3 separate regions of the Homo sapiens genome follow, and regions 2 and 3 are each linked to region 1. Evidence: promoter capture Hi-C in 16 types of primary human blood cells and fetal thymus (Javierre and others, 2016). All regions are on one chromosome and are shown on one strand. Each heading gives the region's core, a stretch centred on a gene start or on the middle of the fragment in contact. The rest is flanking DNA. Distances are from core to core; before and after follow the strand shown.

Region 1 (3,741 bases), core at 631-3,130:
CATTTGGACATTCCGCGCCCCCCGCCCCCCACCCTTTAGCGGATTGTCTTTCTATGACATTAACACATTGTGATTTCCTGGCCTTTGAGGGGTAGAGGAGGGGTGGGGGGAGCGTGAGAAAGCTCAAAGGAGAGGAGGCAGTACAGGCGACGGCCCTTTGCCCAGAACCATCACTCAAAGGGCCGCCATGCCTCCCCCGCACCCTCCCAGCCTCGGCAGCGTCAGGAGAAGTAGCAGGAGGCGCGAGGCCCAAGAGATTGCCCGCTTTGTCCCTGGGGTGGGGACTGGTTGAGGACTGATGGGGGGATTCACGATTCATCCTCCCCCCACCGCCACCATGAAAATGTAGTGAACCTCAATTGCTTCCTAACCGGAGTGGAGGCGTAGGGACGTGCAGATCCCAGACCATCTTTTTTGAGACAGACAACGTTGGTCAAAGGGATGTTTTGTGGCCTTATAAGTTCCCACCAGACACCCCCAACACAAACACACAGGCACAGCCTCCCAGCAGTCCGTTTCTCCCAGACAAGTAGCAAGACCAGCGAAGGGGTTTAAAAAGTCTGGGCGCCCCTGGGCACACGCACGGCTGAGACGCGCAGCCCAACCCGTCTCCCCTAGAGGCTGCAACCTACCCGGAACCCCAGGTCACCGCGGAGCGGCAGAGGCGGCCTCGGCCAAACGCATCGTCAGATAGATATGTGGCCCAGGGCAGCAGCTGGTCGCCGGGCGCTAAACGCCCCCCCTCCCGAGACCCCGCTTGTTGGGTGGCTCTGAATGTCCCCCGGAGGCCCAGCGGCACAGCCGGGCCTCATCCTCCAGCTCCTCCCGCGGGGGTCGAGCGGGGGCGCGGCCTCGCCCCCTTGGTCTCCCGCGGGAACCCGGCGCTGGCCCGCCCCCGCCTCCTCCCGCCCCCTCGTCCCGGCTGCGCGCGCCGCCGACTCACCGAGCGAAGCCTGCACCGTCTCGGCCGCGGAGAAGGCGAGCAGCGAGCCCTCTTTGGCCAGGAAGCCTTTGCCGTCCTCCGCGTCAGCCTGCAGCGCCTCCGCCTTGTCGAAGTTACCGCCGCCGGGCAGCGGCTGCGGCGCGAACTTGCGGGCCGCTGCCGCCTCCTGGTGCTGGGGCGACGCGGAGAAGCCGCCGGGGAGCGTGGCCATGAGCGTAGAGGTGAGCGCCATGCCCTGCGCCAGGCTGGAGCAGAAGCCTGTGGGCAGGCTGGGGATCTGGTGGTGAGGGTGTGCGGGCGGCAGCGCTGGCTGCAGCGCGGCCTGGGGCAGCGCGGGCGGCGGCGGCGGCGGCGGCGGCAGCACTACCGGCCGGTAGGGCATGAACATGGGGTAGCCGGTGTAGACGAAATGGCCGGGGCTGGGCTGCGGCGGGCTGCCGATCAGCGAGTCTATGCTGAAGGCGGTGCTACTCCCCAGCGGGCGCTGCATCATCATCAGCGACGGCGGGAACGCTGCGCTCATAGACGCGCTCGGTAGAGGCCAGCGAGAGGCGAAAAGTCCCCGCGCCGCGCCGCCGCCGGGAAGCCCGCCGGACGCCGGGAGCACCGCCGGGAGCGCCGGGCAGGGGCCGAGCGGGACCCGGAGAGCAGACGCCTCCGCCCCTCAGTCCTGGGCCCGCTGCATGCCGGGCGGGTGCAGGGGGTGTGCGGGGTGAGGCCGTGCGCCCCGGAGTGGAGAGGGCGCCCGGGCCCCGAGGGCTCGCCGGAGCCCCCGTCCGCCGCTTGCCCGTCGGAGCCCGCGCGCTTCGCGGGTTTGGCCCTCGGCCCCGGTAAGCTGCCGTCCGTCCGTCCGTCCCGCCGTCCGTCGCCTCCCGCGGGCCGCTGGGGAGCGCGCGAAGCCGGCGTACTTATCTCCGGCGGGCGCAGCCAGCACCTTTAAATCGCGCTCCTCTTTCTCATTCACATTTTGCCTGCCGCCTGGCCCGGCTCGCCTCACGTGGGGCTGGGCGCCTCTGGCCATTGGCTGAGCGGGGCGGGGGTGGGGCGAAAGCGGGGCCCCGCCCTTTCCACCCAAGCTGGCCTCGAGCGGGCTGCGGGCGCCACCGTCGGAGCGCGCGGGCCGGGGAGCCGGAGCCTGCATGCCTAGCCCGTGCCGCGCAAACTTGAGACGGGCGGATGGCACCTCCAAGGCTCGGACCTTGGGGCCCTGCAGCCTTGTCGAGGCCACCTCGAAGGGTAGCCTCCGGGGCCCGCACCCCCACGGCTGGGCCGGGGGCGCTTTATTTCTTTTACTGTATTTGCCATGGAACCAACCTGCCTGCGGCTCACTCCAGCGCTGGGTGCTCCGGCTGCGCCTGGGGTCCGGGCGAGGGTCCTGGAGTTGGGGGCAGGGTCCTGCCCCTCCGGAGCCACCCCCGGGGCGAAGGCTGGGAGCTGGCAGCGCCTGCCCGCCGCCAGAAACCCGCCGGGTTGCTCGCTGTAGGTCCGCGCACCGGGTGGGGCGGGGAGGCTGCTGCTTCCCCCATCCCGGGCTGGGCCCTCCCGTGAGCGATCCCGTCTCTCATTTTTCATGACATTCTTAATCATCGCACCTATTTACACACTTTGCCAGCGCGCACCAAAATAACAACCACGATAATTATGATAATAAAGAGAGTCCTTTATCTGCTCCATCCTCGGGGAGGAAGGGGGGAGTTGCTGTGCCTCCAGATTGTATAACGTGAGATTATCCTGATGAAAGCTTTATGATGTTTGCTCAAATAAAAGCTGCGTTTTGTAAATAGGCGCTAATTAAGCACGTTGCGAACGCAAGGAGTGCTCACCCTGGCGCCGCCGCCCGGTTTCCAGCGCGAGGACTCGAGGGCGCGCGGTTCCTCTTTGCTAACTGCAGGATGGAGCCGATCCCCTCAGGATGTTTCCCCTGTTCTCGACAACGGTAAAGACCCCCAAATTTGAAAGTAAGGGAATTTTGGGGTGGAGGGAAACTAGGGACGTACTTATCCCCTCTTCCATTTTCAAACAAAAAACTTTCAGCTCTTGTCTTCCCTTTAAAAATGGAATCACTTCTTGACAACGGCAGACCGTGCAGAGCGCACCAGCGCGAGCGGGGCTTCCTCGAGTCTCCAAGGCCCGGGCTTCAACTTCCCGGGTCTAGACGTCAGCCCTGAACCGCCAACAGCACCGGGTTGGGGAGAAGGAAAGAAGGGCATTGTTAGTTCGGTCATTAAAAATCAGCTCACGCCGAGGAGCTAGTGGTTGGGGAGTTGGCCCGTGTTGGACGTGTGTTATGTATCACTTACAAGCACATTTAATTGGGAGATAAAGATAAATCGATCTTTATGAATTTATCGACCCGATTCTTTGAAGCTCTTTTTTCGCGTTCTTCCTCTTTCTCTCGCTCTAGCCCCAAGGCCCCCCGGGGGACGTCTTAATCCCAGATCAGCTCCTCTGCCAGGAGTCCCGCCGGAGACCCACTGCCCACCCAGCAGACCTGGAGGAAAGAGGGGAGGGTGTGTCCTTGGCGCCCCGGGACGCTGGGAAAACTCGCTGGTCCGCCGCCAGCCCTCTCCTCCTCCTCGCCTCCTCCCTCCCTACCACCACCCGGACAAAGACGTCTCGATCGCGTTTCCCCACTCCAGGCCGCAGTAATAGATCGCTCCGGCAGCAGGCGGTTTGAAAGGAATTCATTAGGACGCTGCCTGGATTGCCTCCCCTGACTTCACGCCCAGACCCCGAGGTGGCTTAGGCAGTGTGAGGGGAAATGAATTCCCTTTGGGATCCATGGAGAAGGAGGTGTC
Region 2 (3,635 bases), core at 381-2,880, 340 kb before region 1:
TATGCTTTTGCTTAACTGGGGCAAAAATCATGTGCATTATTTCAGTGTCTGCTTTTAAAAGTAGATGGTAGTATTTTATTTTCAGTTAGGTGAAGCAGAAAAATGTATCCAGCAAAGTCTTCATTAAAAAGCTTAAGATGGCTAGAACTAAATATACATTGAACACAATTACTAATTTATCAAATATGTTTGCATGTTGGTCAGTATATACAATAAAAAATAGTGTTTAATTTGAAATGTTAAAACCCTCTCTAGGTCCAAAAAATAGAATGGATGAGACCTACTATTTGATAGCACAGCAGGGTGACTTTAGTCAGTAATAACTATACATTTAAAAATAACTTAAAAGAGTGTCATTGGATTGTTTGTAACCCAATGGATAAATGAGAGGATGGAGACCTTATTCTCCACAGTGTGCTGCTTTCACATTGCATGCCTGTATCAAAACATCTCATGTGCCTCATAAATATATACACCTACTATGTACTCAAAAAATTAAAAACAGAAAAAAAAAAATAGAAACCCTCTCAATTGTTGCTGCACCCAGCGTGGAAGAGGAGGTGTGCGAAACCATGCTAACGTGGCGCCATGCCCTGTGATGAAAGAGCCACCTGCTTAGTTGTTGGCTCCAGTAGAAGGAGAAGGAACACACCGTTTGCTTACTGGATGGCAGAGCGTTGGCATGCTCTTTATCCCTCATAGATTCCTTTCAGGTTACCCCCAAATAGGGTGACCTAGTTTTCCTCATGAGCATGGCTTATTAAGGGCCCCAAAAGTCTAACCTCTGCCAACTCAGAGATGCTGCTTGGGCAGATACAGGGCCTGAGCAGGGATAAGGAAAGGTAACCATCAGCTGCATAACCATGCATTTGCAGGTTCATTCTTTCTACTTTCGTCTCCGTTGCTCCGTTTCACATATCTTTTTTTTTCTTCCCCCACCCCCACTCCTTTTTTTGAGACAAGAGTCTTGCTGCTCTGTCACCCAGGCTGGAGTGCAGTGGCACGATCTCGGCTCACTGCAACCTCCACCTCCCAGGTTCAAGTGATTCTCCTGCCTCAGCCTCCCAAGTAGCTGGGATTACAGGCGCCCGCCACCACACCCAGCTAATTTTTGTATTTTTAGTAGAGACGGGGTTTTACCATGTTGGCCAGGGTGGGCTCGAACTCCTACCACCCGCCTCAGCCTCCCAAAGTGCTGGAATTACAGGTGTGAGCCACTGCACACGGCTTGCTTCCCCATATCTTTTTAAAAATGTTTTTTTGCAACATTAGCCACCCTGAGAGTTTCTTCACGAAGTTCCTGTGGAGGTGGCTGGCTGTCTTCGTCACTTTTCTCCACAGAATGTTTCTAAAACACACAAATTTGGCCAAACAGCCTCCAAAGCAATGATTTCATATCTCCTTCCTCCTATTGTTCACTAACTTTGATTAAGTTAGAGAAAAGTACCTGCACTTTTCAGATACGGTGGCTCCGCGTGTTGGAGAATTCAGTACCAGATCCATGGCTCATCCTAAGCAGGGCAAGGAGGAGGGGAGCTCTTCACCCCTGGGCGGGTTTGTAGTGCGGCTTGTGCGTCTCCCCAGATTGCAGAGGAGAGGAAATACATCCCCTTCAAGATGAGAGGACACAGCTGCAACGTCTTATTTTAAAAATATGTGTGACTTTTACTTTCTGCTTCATACATGCATCACGTGTTTGAATATACTTTCTATTATTTGTGAGTTAACATTGCTGTTTTTCTCCAAGTGTTTGAGTGAAATTGATTCTCCACGCAGACTCTCCTTGCTCACCCTGAGGTTTCAGGGCTTTGACCTGAGGGCTGAGACCACAGGGCACAGCTCCTGACCCACGTGGCTGAAGGGCTTGGAGCAGGAGGTAAGGGGGCTGCCGGCGTAGCTCCAAGGTGATGAATATTTCTACTTGATATTTCTCCTGGTATTTCTGCACTTTAATGACTATTTCTACTAATACTTGTACTAATAATTTTTAATGGTTCACATTGAGTAGGTGACATTTTGATACATTAATGAGCCTTATCAATGACTTTTAAAAGTTCCTTAGTGTGCCAGGATACTTTGCTGCAGCCCTTGGAAGGAAGGGGAGAGGGTGTGGCTGTGGCCCCCATTCTACCCTCTGAGCATGAGTCACAGGTGGCACGCCTAAGAGTAACATCCACGGCTGAATCGTCACCGGCATTGAACTACACTTCCAAGGTTAGTCAGGGAGGCTTTCCTTTAACATAGCTTGCCCGTACTAAAAGCTGTCAGAATACTGGAGAAATGTAGGCCTTGAAGATAGAGGGGTGTTTTCAGGGGTGGCTGCCTTCACTCTGGAATGCTTTGCGCCTGCTGGGATGTTGCTAGCATGCCTGTGGGGAGAGGCCCGGAGGGCTGGGCTGCGAGGGAGGCTGCACTGGCTTCTGGGAAGCGCTGGTTTCTGGAGCAGGCCAGCCTGCGGGACTCCAGGACTGAGGCTTGCCCAGCCACTGTGGGTCCTGACGGTGCAGTAGGGGCTGCATTTTGACAGACTTACAACAAGTATCCCAGAGAAAGATGAGAGCAGATGGGGATCCTGAATTTTGGTTTCCTGGGGACAAATGTTTTCTGGCTTGTTCTCATGTTTCTGGGAAATAATGGGATTAAATTCGAGTATCTTTCTTGGCTACAGGAATTGATGGAAGAGGAAGTATTTTGAACTCAGTGAAATGAGCATTCCTCTGCACTAGGCCGACCCCTTTCTGTGGCAGCCCACTGGAACATAAGCACCCCATGTTGGGAATTTCTTTTTTTGGTCACCAGTGTATCCCAGACCCCTAGAGTAGCTCTCAGTAAATATTTATGTAATGAAAAATCTCAATTCTCACAACCACCTTAGGAGGGATAATAGCATAATCCCCATTTCACAGACAGAATGAATGCTCAGAGAAGTTGAGCCACTTACTCAATGTCACTCAGCCTGGGAGTGGTAAACTAACACTTATGCATTGTATGGAACTGCCCACGAGTCACGTTTGTTCTATGAGAAGGCAGAAAATACCTGGGGAGGTCTTGCCCAGGGGTGTGTATGTCTTAATTGATAAACCTCTGGAATTGGAAACGTAGAGGGTAGTCCAGGGTAGAATTTAGGCTCAAGCTTACTTTGAGAGCATGTTGCCCTAAGAGTGGAATGTCATGGAGCAAATTCCAGAAGCTTTCGCTCACCCAGCCTTTTCAAAGTCCATCCCAAGACTGTTGGGTCCACATGTTGCTCGGATGTCATGAGATGTCCCTGGTTGACACGTTGAGGACACGCTAAACCACACGAAGATAATGGGTGTCATTTTGCATGACTCACAGCCCTTACCATTTGAACGTGCAATGGATGCTCCGAGAAAGAACAGACCTTGAGTCCTCGTTTGTAAGACACAGCTCTCAGACGCAGCCTGTCCAGAGTTCTGAGCCTCAGTTTTGGGGGTCAGGTGTCATTGTCTTAAGATGCAGTTTTGTGGACTGGTACAGAGTTCAGTCTAAGGCAGATGTCTCTCTTTTATTCCTGTTGTCTTTCAACATTTGGGCTACTGGGTAGATGGGCACCAGTGACTGGGCAGATTGGCACCAGGACTTTGTCTACAACCTGCGTTTCCCTGTTTGTTCTG
Region 3 (3,548 bases), core at 403-2,902, 410 kb before region 1:
AGGTGGAACCGTTTCATCCCAAAACCATCCCCATCCCCCACCTGCCCCCCAACCCCTGATCCTCAGAAAAATTGTCTTCCATGAAACCAGTCCTTGGTGCCAAAAAGGTTGGGGACTGCTGCTATATAGAATTTAATATTCTTGCATGCATTTTCTGAACCTTCTAGTCACTTGTTAAATCCCAGTTCAGAACATCACATTAGATATATGATCTGCACTGTGCTAGGACGTGCTCCCCACCAAAACGTCAGCGTCTTAAGCTTGTATTCATATGACCATAGGAAAACCTACATGCAGAACTTTGATAGTAGTTGTTAGACCAGGTCAAGATCCATGTCAAAGAGATAAATTACAAATTATCATCTCTCTGCTTAACGGTCTCCAGGGCCAGTTTGGTGATCTCACATAGACTTCTGTCCTAGAACAGATCTGCATTATTGTGGAGGGAGAGACAGTAGGTTCTAGGTGTATGGGAAAGCTGGGCAGTGGCACTGGAAGGGCGCTGTGTGCCAGGTGCTAGCGCTCCCGGGCCCTGTGTGCCAGGTGCTAGTGCTCCCGGGCTCTGTGTGCCAGGTGCTAGTGTGGCCACAGCCTTGTGGCTTATTAGGGCTTCCTCTGTTCACACGCTGTGTACATCGTCCTGGTGGATGGGTGTTTATCTGGTAGAGTAGTTCCTGGTCTAGGCAGATCCATGTCAGTCCTTTGACCTCATTGCCCCTGGCTTTTTATGTTTGTGCTGCAGTTAACATTCTGGAAAGCACTTTTATAGAAGCCATTCCATTTGTCTTTTGTCCCTTCCCAGTAACGGCTCACCTGGGCCTATCTAACCCATGCCGAGAGCCCGAGCTGGGAGAGGTTGCATGATTTTTACCAAGGTTGTGCGGGAAGTCAGGGAGCCTCGGTGTGCTCTTGATGCTTTGCTTCCAGAGATTGAAATCCTGGTGTGTGCAAAGAACCCCATCTCACATTAAATGGCTGCAGCTGCCTGGTCCTAATTACAGGAGTGTCCAGAACCAGGGGAGCTATGTTAATGAGTCCGTTTGTGCAACCTAATTGCACGCACTAGAGCATCTGTGAATGTAAGCAGTCTTCTGGGCCTCTTCTCCTGGGTCCTGCATCATCTTGGACCATTTTGTTTTGCTCACACCACAGTCCTTGTGCTGTTAAAGGATGTATCAGTTAAGCCTATTCCATTCTTTCCTGAAATCAGCTTAATTTTCATTGTCGGGGTGGCCTGTTTTATGATTTGTTTTTGTTGCTATTTTTTTCTCCTTTATTACAGATTAGATTGGAACTAGTGTGTGTGTGCATGCGTGCATGTGTGTGTGTATATGTGTGTTAGCGAGGGAATACTTCAAAAAATAAGATTTTTTACACTTGAAAGCAAGCCATGTATATGTGTACATTAGGCACTTGATATATGTTGAAAAGGTGGATTAATGGGTCATTAATTGTCCATTTTTTAATCACTTGTAGTAATGACTAATAATTATGCAACAATTTAACGGCTTATGATGTAGGATAGTGGATCTTATTAGGCCCAGTTTACAGCTGGGACTACATTGTTGGAAATGCTGCCTTCCCAGAGGTACATGGTGCAGCTGGTGTCAGGCGAGGCCATCATTTCCCGTTTCTACCTGTGGTCTTGGCTGTGCACCTGTACTCATCACTGTCCCCGTCTCTACACCCTCACCCCCTCCACACATTGAAAGTCTTATTTCTAAGACTTCCTGGGACAGATGGGTGGTAGATGTGTATTGGGACAGTATGAAAGAGGTTCAGCTGCTTAAATTACACTTCATTAAGGGGGTTCATATTTGAACATTTTCTGAGAACAAAGATGACATGAAGAAAGTGACCTCTGTAAGGCTCTGGCAGCACTTATGCGGTACCAATACAAATGGGGGTTGGGGGCTGAGCAGAAAACATTCTTCAAGAGTTAAATGATCAAGTCACGTAAGGCGTGTTGTTTTTGTTTTGTTTTGAGACAATGTCTCACTGTCACACAAGCTGGAGTGCAGTGACACAATCTTGGTTCACTGCAACCTCTGCCTTCTGGGCTCAAGCCGTCCTCCCGCCCCAGCCTCCCAAGTTGCTGGGATTACAGGTGCGTGCCAGCACACCCAGCTAGTTTTTGTATTTTTAGTAGAAATGGGGTTTTGCCATGTTGCCCAGCCTAGTCTCGAACTCCTGAGCTCAAAGCGATCCGACCGCCTCAGCCTCCCAAAGTGCTGGGATTACAGGCATGAGCCATGGCACCCGGTCATATAAGGGGGTTTGATGCTGGTTTGGGAGACATTCTGGTGTCGTTAGCCCTAGGGTTGTTGATGTCATTCTTTTTTTTTTTTTTTTTTTTTTGAGATGGAGTCTCGCTCTGTCACCCAGGCTGGACTGCAGTGGTGTGATCTCAGCTCACTGCAAGCTCCACCTCCTGGGTTCACACCATTCTCCTGCTTCAGCCTCCCAAGTAGCTGGGACTACAGGCGCCTGCCACCACGCCCGGCTAATTTTTTTGTATTTTTAGTAGAGACGGGCTTTCACCGTGTTAGCCAGGATGGTCTTGATCTCCTGACCTCGTGATCCGCCCGCCTTGGCCTCCCAAAGTGCTGGGATTACAGGCGTGAGCCACCGCGCCCGGCCCTGGCAGCTTCACATGTAGGGCCATCCAGTGCATGTGAGAATCTGCAGATGGTCTCCAGAAGAGCCACATCTGACCTGCCTAGTAGCTTATCTCCCAGCGAATGGGAGAGGTGCAGACCTGCTGTTGACTGTAAGGAGACTTGATTCAGCCTGTTGGTGGGGGCGCACATGTGAGGAAGAAGCCTTGGTGGGTTTGTGTGGGTCTTTCTCTTATGCCATATCCCTGGTTTATATTTGGATGGGAAAATACATAAATGTTTGATGGTGATCATTTTTATGAAACATGACATTGTCAACTCCTTTCTTCATATGCATTTTCGAATTCAGTTCTTAACCAAAGAAGCTCTTTCTACAACAGGGTTAAATTATAAACTGAAATAGCAAATTAATACCAAAACTAAAATAAAGCTTTTTGTATAGTAAACCATACATTCAGAGGTTTAAAAAAATCCAACAAAATGAAAAATACTTTTGAGTTACTATTTTTAGAAAAAAATTAGTTTGGGTTGAAAAATTCTTACCCTCATGAAGCTATAAAAGCACATGTTTTACTGATGAGAGAAGCTTCTGGCACATCAACTGAGACAAAAATCTTCCATATTCACTCGGTAAATACAAATACAGAAGATGGGCTGGGCGCAGAGGTTCACAGCTGTAATCTAAGCACTTTGGGAGGCTGAGGCAGGCGAATTACCTGAGGTCAAGAGTTTGAGACCAGCCTGGCCAACATGCCGAAACCCCCCTCTCTAAAAATACAAAAATTAGCCAGGCATGGTGGCGTGTGCCTGTAGTCCCGGCTACTCGGGAGGCTGAGGAGGGAGAATCTCTTGAACCCGGGAGGCGGAGGTTGCAGTGAGCTGAGATCACGCCACTGCACTCCAGCCTGGGCGACAGAGCGAGACTCCGTC

Evidence for each region. Contacts are between HindIII fragments. The CHiCAGO score rates a contact against its expected background, and 5 or more counts as called.
Region 2: a fragment that was not itself captured here is called in contact with the fragment with the promoter of GBX2 in region 1 in 1 of 17 cell types (endothelial precursors); the score reaches 7.3 in endothelial precursors.
Region 3: a contact is called between a fragment that was not itself captured here and the fragment with the promoter of GBX2 in region 1, in 6 of 17 cell types (megakaryocytes, M1 macrophages, M2 macrophages and 3 more). The highest score is 9.7, in megakaryocytes.

What each region holds. Positions count from the first base shown.
Region 1 is chr2:236,166,506-236,170,246 of GRCh38, forward strand. GBX2 (gastrulation brain homeobox 2) reads right to left here and starts at 1,881. Exons shown (of 2, transcript NM_001485.4): 1 at 944-1,881. The coding sequence starts at 1,466. GBX2-AS1 (GBX2 and ASB18 antisense RNA 1) reads left to right here and starts at 937. Exons shown (of 2, transcript NR_186035.1): 1 at 937-1,164. LOC124906126 (a long non-coding RNA gene) reads left to right here and starts at 2,521. Exons shown (of 2, transcript XR_007088136.1): 1 at 2,521-2,879; 2 at 3,024-3,291. RefSeq lists an enhancer at 60-1,012. The HindIII fragment of the contact is 5,712 bases long and covers 1-2,682 here.
Region 2 is chr2:235,825,509-235,829,143 of GRCh38, forward strand. All of the region lies in intron 9 of AGAP1 (ArfGAP with GTPase domain, ankyrin repeat and PH domain 1), which reads left to right. Among named protein-coding and RNA genes, the nearest start is that of TNRC17, 310 kb to the left of the region's middle. RefSeq lists an enhancer at 1,657-2,856. The HindIII fragment of the contact is 3,002 bases long and covers 130-3,131 here.
Region 3 is chr2:235,756,829-235,760,376 of GRCh38, forward strand. The region is part of intron 6 of AGAP1 (ArfGAP with GTPase domain, ankyrin repeat and PH domain 1); the gene reads left to right. The region is part of intron 3 of LOC105373942 (a long non-coding RNA gene); the gene reads right to left. Among named protein-coding and RNA genes, the nearest start is that of TNRC17, 240 kb to the left of the region's middle. The HindIII fragment of the contact is 2,788 bases long and covers 259-3,046 here.